2 separate regions of the Homo sapiens genome follow, and region 2 is linked to region 1. The links are contacts of gene promoters, found by promoter capture Hi-C in human tissues and cell types (Jung and others, 2019). All regions are on one chromosome and are shown on one strand. The core of a region is centred on a gene start or on the middle of the fragment in contact, and the rest is flanking DNA. Distances in the headings are between cores, read along the strand shown. Region 1 holds the start of ZNF804B (zinc finger protein 804B). Region 2 overlaps STEAP2-AS1 (STEAP2 antisense RNA 1).

Evidence for each region. Contacts are between HindIII fragments. The study calls those that stand out against the background at their distance.
Region 2: a fragment that was not itself captured here is called in contact with the fragment with the promoter of ZNF804B in region 1 in 1 of the 25 tissues and cell types used here (stomach).

What each region holds. Positions count from the first base shown.
Region 1 is chr7:88,757,677-88,761,700 of GRCh38, reverse strand. ZNF804B (zinc finger protein 804B) reads right to left here and starts at 2,001. Exons shown (of 4, transcript NM_181646.5): 1 at 1,617-2,001. The coding sequence starts at 1,724. RefSeq lists an enhancer at 1,311-1,855. The HindIII fragment of the contact is 17,200 bases long and covers 1-4,024 here.
Region 2 is chr7:89,984,700-89,988,723 of GRCh38, reverse strand. The region is part of intron 2 of STEAP2-AS1 (STEAP2 antisense RNA 1); the gene reads left to right. Among named protein-coding and RNA genes, the nearest start is that of STEAP1, 170 kb to the left of the region's middle. The HindIII fragment of the contact is 3,398 bases long and covers 389-3,786 here.

The sequences.
Region 1 (4,024 bases), core at 752-3,251:
TCCATAACCAAAAGGAGGGCAAGGGAGACAGGCACGGAGATTACCAAAGCGTTGAAAAATAATACCTGTGAGAAAGGCAGAACATTGTATGTTTTCTAGATGAAATAGACTTAAAGAAGAATTTAAAGGATTTAAGTTGGCTGTAAGAAAGATTCTCCTGGCACTGTGAGTTGTTAAACATTAAAGTGGTTTGCTGAGACTGCAGGAACTCCAATTCTGAGAATCTTTAGAAATGGGAAAGATTCAGACCTGCTACTTAGAGGGACTGAATGTGGGCTTTATTAAACTAGAACTCTGCAAGTGCCTGCTAACCCTGTGAGTTTAATTGTTAAGTACTTATACAAACAGTATTTTCCATCTAACAGTTCTGACTCAGTACTGTATACAGTTGTTGGGGGGAGCAGTTGCAACAACCCACTTTTTATAGTACATAAAAGCATGTGAAGGAATAGTTTGTCATGAGGAATCCTAGTGATATCTCTGGGCACCTGTACTTTCTGATCTTAGATTTCTCATGTAAATTACATATAGCATTTATTAATAATCAAAGGCTTTTATAATATGTTGCAGTTTTGAATAATTCATGCTAAAGAAGCATTAAACCATGATGGAAAATATCAAACATAAAAAAATTAAAGTTGGGCAATTTCAGTTTTCCCTCTTGATATCATACAGACTTAAATACTGTTTTTTATATGAAACCTCAAAAGTTGGTCTTTAAGTTTGGATACTTAGTCACTAGTAGTCCAAAACTAATATATATATATATTTATTATATATATATTTATTATATATATATTTATTATATATATATATAAATTACACACACATACACATTCACACACATTTTCTTGAAACATATTTGGAGCCTTAAAACATAATAGCATGTACCAAGAAATGAATTAATAATGTATTTAACTCATATAATCTGGATGAAATTATTTTATAAAAAGAATGTGAATAAACTGAATAGTAACTAAATTGAATAGTTTACTAAGTTAAAAAGCAATCACGTTAATTGCATGTTAATATATTTGTATATTATACAATAAATTATCCAACTCAGATTTCCATAAAGAATTCTCTTACTTCCCCTTAAAGAATGTGCATAGTTGAGCATTAGATATAATCAAGTTTTCACTACCTATAACTTTCCTTTTGCCAATGATTTGAGGGAAAATCTTTGAGTTTTTCTCACAAAGTAACAGTAGCATTATTAAACTAATCTCAACTGATGACTTTACAAAAGCACATTATAACGTGCCACTCAAACTTTCTACACTGCTCAAATCAGCAGATTCGTAAGTTGACATAGCACAGAGGAGCTACCTTCTGAGCCCTGCAGTTGACTGCATTCAGTAAGTATTTACATCCGTAGCACTATAGATCCTACTGACTGAATTGAAAATACACATGTAAATACACACCCCTCTCTGTGTCACAGTCTGTCAATAAATTGTATAAACGGACACGATGTATCTCCATACCTATGGATAAGGTATACGTTTTAGATGTCCACCACCTACTCATTGTATCAGGATACTATCTCTCAATATCTTTTTGTTTGTGTTGAGTTGGAACGTTTGTGTATGTATGTGTGTGCGCGCGCACATTACCGGAGAGGGAGATCCGTTCTTGCACAGGGGTCCCCTGAAGACTCCTTTAATGCCCCGGTAGTGCCCATTGCTGAGATGTCTCGAACTGATGACCAGGTAACAAGCCATGTGGGTCCGGGCGGAGGCGCAGAGTCTCAACTCCTCACCAGGCGACCAGCCGTGGAAAGCGGGCGGGTTTCTCAGCGGCAACAGCGACTACCACCTCCCGAGAAGACGCGGCCAGCAGGACGCAGGGGGAGGCGGTGGCAGCGCGTCCCTGCTCCGCGCCCCGTGCGGGGCTCCTGCTGCCGACAGCTGCTGCTCTGACAGAGGCGGCGGCGGCGACAGCACAGAGCACGGAGGGGACCCGGCGAGCCAGTCCACATGCTGCTCTGACGAGGTGGCTGCTCAACCGCGGGCCAGCGATATATTTATTTAAGGACAACTTCCAGGGTCCACCAGGGAATCAGGAATTCCCCCGCCCCTTTCCTCCCGCCCCCTGCCTTCGCGCCTGGCGCCTGCCCGGGGGATGCTCAGGCGCGGGTACCCATCGTCCGGCCGGGGGCGTCCTGGGCTGCTGGCTGCAGTGTGAAGATCCAGCAGCAGCCGCCGCCACCGCCGCTGCTTTGTGGGGAGAGTGGCGGGGAGTCCTTGGGAGCGCCAAAGCGCTGCCCCCGCTGCAGTCGGGAGAGGGCGGAGGAGGAGACGGGCGGGCCGGGGTGAGGACAGGGAGTTGGGGACGCGGCGACCTGTGCTTGAGGAGGGCAGTTAGCGCCTCTGCTGGGAGCTGTGGGCTCGGGGCTGCCCAGGAGGCTCAGGTGTGCTGTGGGGCGAGGCCAGGAGGTGACAGCTGCCGCTGCAGCCGCGGGGGGCTCTCGGGGCTGCAGGACCCGCCTCTCCCACCTCCCGGCCTCAGCCGCCCAGCCCCCCGGTTCTTCTGCCCTATCTCTGAGCCAACTTTCTACTGTTTGGGAGTCACCTGGGAGGACTGGGGAGGCTGTGGTGGAGGAGATGGGCAGGAGGAGGGCGTTTTCTTTACTCTTTCGTTGCCTGCTGGCCTTCAGCTTTTCTTCAGCGCTCTGGCTGACGGCGGCGTTGGCAGAAGCAACAGCTCCCCAGCCGGTTGCAAGAATGAGCTGTGCAGCCACAAATAGGGCAGACAGATTAGATGCGCCGTGGTAGGGAACGCACGGACGAGGAAAGTTTTGGGCAGAAAACTTATATAAGGTATAGAAACGAGACATGCATACGTATATGTGCATATACATGCACGTACCCAGAGTTATGAAGATTCACTTACAAGCCTTTCTGTATCTTAGCGAGGCACATATTTTTGGTCTCTATAAGACCTCTGTGCTTTCAAAACCCCCAATAATCACCCCTCTCAGAAGTGGTTTTTAACGGACCTTATTTCGTTTACCGTAATTTAAGCCACCAGGGAGCGAGCTGCACTGAGAATAAAAAGACCTGGGCAGAAATGTGCTCTGAAAGGAGAAGATAGCCCTCCCAGGGTTTGGAGACACCCTGCACTCTCCTCCACCCCGCGGTTGCTTAATGCGGTTCTGCAATCCATCTCTGCCTCACCTCGCCTTGTCTGTGCCTGGGAGAAGGTAAAGGTTCACCTCCTCTCAGTCTGTTGCTTCAGCGCTGGAATTGAAAGGCTACCGCCAATGCGCTAATTCTCCCCAGTATTGTCCTCTCCTGTCTCCCACAATGCCCCATTCGCATCCCGGTTGACATTGACACAAAAGCAGAAACAGGTTAAAAGGAAAAAAAAACTGTTAATTTAATTTTTCCTATTCAGGCAACTCATAAAATTCTTAAGCAAAAAAGGAACAAAAAAGAATCTAATTATAACTTTTGTAACTACCCAATAAAAGCTTGACTTTTTGTTTACATCATTACAATGGCTTAATATCCTTAATATTTTATTTAAAAAATACATAGATGTACTTCTCATTTTAAAGGTTTTATATAGTCTTTTAAAGTGTTTGCAAAGCTTCTGAGTATATAAGGGAAAAATGCCAATTCCTTGCAAACCTTCAGAATAAAAATTACTGAAACTGGGATAGTGCAATGTAAATCTCAGGAATTGTTTATTTTAAATAAATTGTTGGTAAGAACTTTTGAAATAAAAATAAATTTATAGAGCAGTGGCAGCAGATGCAACAGATCCATCTTCTCCTTTCTATTGATGTATTTAACACCACAACAATGGCATGTTTAACAACGTAGTGTTTGTTCAACTTACAGCTGTAAAGTGTTTCCTGAAGCTGAGAACAAGTAATATTACTAGTGTATAGACATTAGATGTATTTTATACAAAGAAAACAATGTATTTGCAAATAGTAAAACTTCAAAAATAGGTGAAATATTGACCAAAAAATGAATAAAGTGGAATTTTTGAAGAAGATAGTGTGGCTCAGTTG
Region 2 (4,024 bases), core at 838-3,337, 1.2 Mb before region 1:
AGCCATATCTGTGGCTGTCATTCCAAGGAGCTTTTCAGGAGGTTTAGTATTTATCTATTTCATTAAAGTGGGTGGAAGGAGACCTGCAGGAAGAGGAACAGGTAGGTAGGAAGAGGAACAGGTAGGCAGTAAGGCAAATGGTTACATTTTTGTGAGACTACCATTTTATGTAAGATAAGGTAAATAAAGAGAAAAAAGGCAGTAAAGGAAAAATCAGTTAGGTAGAGGAACAAAGACAATCTCATCTTGTGTTTTTCTGCACCTGGGAAGATAAGCTTGTAGTGGACGTTTTCAGTGTGGAATTGAACAGACTATAGTTTTAGGAGCTAGACTTAGATTGTAGACCTAAAATTACAATTGGGATGTCCTTGTTTATGGGAGAATTTACTTAGAAATGATCTGTGGGGGTGGCCCTTCATAGATGCCTGAGGCCTTTTACTTGGGCTGATGCATAATGTTGTCATAGCTAGTCATCTGGAAGAGGGAGACTCAGCCTTCAAGCTTAAACTTCCCTTTTACATAAAGAGTTTGGATACCCTGGGATTTAAAAATTTTCCTTTACAATAAAAACTCAAGTTTTCCACTTGTATTTCTCAAACATTATGAATAGCACTACTTTTGTTTATGCCAGTAATAACTCTTAAATTATTTTTTTTCACTTTTTTTATTCAAAGCAATTGCATTTGACCAAGATAGCCTTAGTGTTTCCTTCAGCTCCCCCAAACGTTTAAATAGGCTGCTTCCGACCGACCTCTAGACCCCTGATCTCCCTTTCTAAGGTAAAACATTCACTTTAGAAAACTTGTAATTATAAATGTTTCACTGCTCCTTTGTGATGCAAAACTTTTTTAAAAGCCTTCTGCCAGTTTTACCACCCAGGATTGTCTTTCTCAAAGATCTACAGCCATCTCTTTGATATGTAATTGTCAAGGAAGTTAGACCTTCTGTATCCCAGTTTCTGTGGGAGAGTAGGAACCTAACTTTGGTGGGCACCTTGCTTCCAGTTGTAAAACTATCTCCTGTCATGAAGGTATGAGAATGTTGACTCTCTCTTTGGGTAAAACCAACTAGCAAACACAGATGGTCTAAGACCCTTCTGTCTCAGCTCTTAAAAACTTCCCAGGTGTTTGTTTCAGAAGAATTGCATTTACACTGAGTTCAGGCCTCCTTCTCCTATTGCAATATTCTTTTTGTAAAGCTTTATTTTTAATTGACAAACAATAATTGTATATATTTATGGGCTACAAAGTGTTGTTTACAGGCTGGATGTGGTGGCTCATGCCTGTAATCCCAGCACTGTGGGAGGCTGAAATGGGTGGATTACCTGAGGCCAGGAGTTCACGACCAACCTGGCCAACATGGTGAAACTGCATCTCTACTAAAAATAGAAAAATTAGCTGGGCATGGTGGCACACCCCTGTAATCCCAGCTACTTGGGAGGCTGAGGCAGAATTGTTTGAACCCAGGAGGCGGAGGTTGCAGTGAGCCAAGATTGCGCCATTGCACTCCAGCCTGGGCAACAAGAGTGAAACTCCATAACAAAAACAAAAACAAAACAAAAAAAGTGTTGTTCACATGTTACATTGTGGAATGATCAAATCAGAGTAATTAGCATATCCATCACCTCAAATATTTATTGTTTATTTGTGATGAGAATATCTAAAATCTTCACTTTAAGCTATTTTAAAATGTACAATATATTAACTGTAGTCACCTTGCTGTGAAATAGAACATCCAGAACTTATTCCTTCTAACTGTAACTTTGTACCCATTCAACAACATCTCCCCTTTCCCGATCTTCCTCCCCTCAACTCCCAGCCTCTAGGAGCCACCATTCTACACTTTACCTCTGTGAGTCCAACCTGTTTAGATCCCACATATAAGTGAGATCATATGGCATTAGTCTTTCTGTGCCTGGCTTATTTCAACTAAATGTCCTCAAGTTTCTTCCATATCACAAATGATAGAATTTCCTGTTTTTTTTTTCTTTTAAGGCTAAACAGTATTTTGTTGTGTATATATGACATATTTTAAAAATTGATTATCCATTAGTGAACTATTAGGTTGTTTCCACAACTTGGATATTGTGAATAATGCTGCAGTGAACATGGGAGTGCAGACTTCCCTTCAACAGAGTTCATTTCCTTTTGTGTATACCCAGCAGTGGTATTGCTAGATGATATAGTAATTCTATTTTTAGTTTTTTGAGGAACCACTGTACTATTCTCCAAAATGGCTGTATTGCAATAGTCTTGAATAAAGTTTTTGTTGCCTGTTTAACATTGTCCAGTAAAATGTTTGCTTTGATATTCCCATACTTTATGCTTTCTACATTTTCCAGAATCCCCTGAAAACCTCTTCCCTAGCTGCAGACTTCTGACTCTTCTGTTGATTTATTCAAATGAAAAGCTTCCAAAGAACCCTTCTGAATCCCCCAAATAGAGCATGATGGGAAGGACAGAATGGGCTAAGCTAGAATTTTCTTTGGTAGGCAAGAAAGTAAAGGGCTGGAGACATTGAAGCAATACTAATTAACTTTTGTGTCTTCATATATGTTGTGTGAACTCTGAAAATTTGAGACAGGTCTCAGTTAATTTAGAAAGTTTATTTCGCTGAGGTTGAGGACGTGCACCCATGACACAGTCTCAAGAAGTCCTGACAACTTGTGCCCAAGGTGGTCAGGGCATAGCTTGGTTTTATACATTTTAGGGAGACATTAGATATCAATCAACATATGTAAGAAGTAAACTGGTTCCATCCAGAAAGGCAGGGACAACTCTAAGCAAGGAGAGACCTTCCAGGTCACAGGTGGGTAAGAGACAAATGGTTACATTCTTCTGAGTTTCTGATAAGACTTTCCAAAGGAGGCAAACAGAATGTGCATCTATCTCAGTGAGCAGAGGGATGACTTTGAATAGAATGGGAGGCAGGTTTTCCCTGAGCAGTTTCCAGCTTGAGTTTTCTATTTAGCTTAGTGATTTTCAGGGCCCAAGATATTTTTCTTTCACAGTTGTGTACTGTCTACATGATAACTCTTTTCATAAGATTGCTTCATGTATTGGTGAATATTTAAATAAGGAAGGATCATTTTCCAATAATATCCCAGAACTTAATTACTGGGTGACACCAAGAACTTGCTCACTGGCTTCCTTATCTTCAGTCTCACTAATTCAGTCTCTTCTTAAAACCCCATCATCTCAGCCCAAAATCTCCTAAAGCTGATAGGCAAATTCAGCAAAGTCTCAGGATACAAAATCAATGTGTAAAAATCACAAGCATTCTTATACACCAATAACAGACAAACAGAACCAAATCATGAGTGAACTCCCATTCACAATTGCTTCAAAGAGAATAAAATACCTAGGAATCCAACTTACAAGGGATGTGAAGGACCTCTTCAAGGAGAACTACAAACCACTGCTCAAGGAAATAAAAGAGGATACAAACAAATAGAAGAACATTCCATGCTCATGGGTAGGAAGAATCAATATCATGAAAATGGCCATACTGCCCAAGGTAATTTATAGATTCAATGCCATCCCCATCAAGCTACCAATGACTTTTTTCACAGGATTGGAAAAGACTACTTTAAAGTTCATATGGAACCAAAAAAGAGCCCACATCACCAAGTCAATCCTAAGCCAAAAGAACAAAGCTGGAGGTATGCTACCTGAGTTCAAACTATACTATAAGGCTACAGTAACCAAAACAGCATGGTACTGGTACCAAAACAGAGATATAGAACAATGGAACAGAACAGAGCCCTCAGAAATAATGCTGCATATCTACAACCATCTGATCTTTGACAAATCTGACAAAAATAAGCAATGGGGAAAGAATTCCCTATTTAATAAATGGTGCTGGGAAAACTGGCTAGCCATATGTAGAAAGCTGAAACTGGATCCCTTCCTTACACCTTACACAAAAATTAATTCGAGATGGATTAAAGACTTACATGTCAGACCTAAAACCATAAAAACCCTAGAAGAAAACCTAGGCAATACCATTGAAGACATAGGCATGG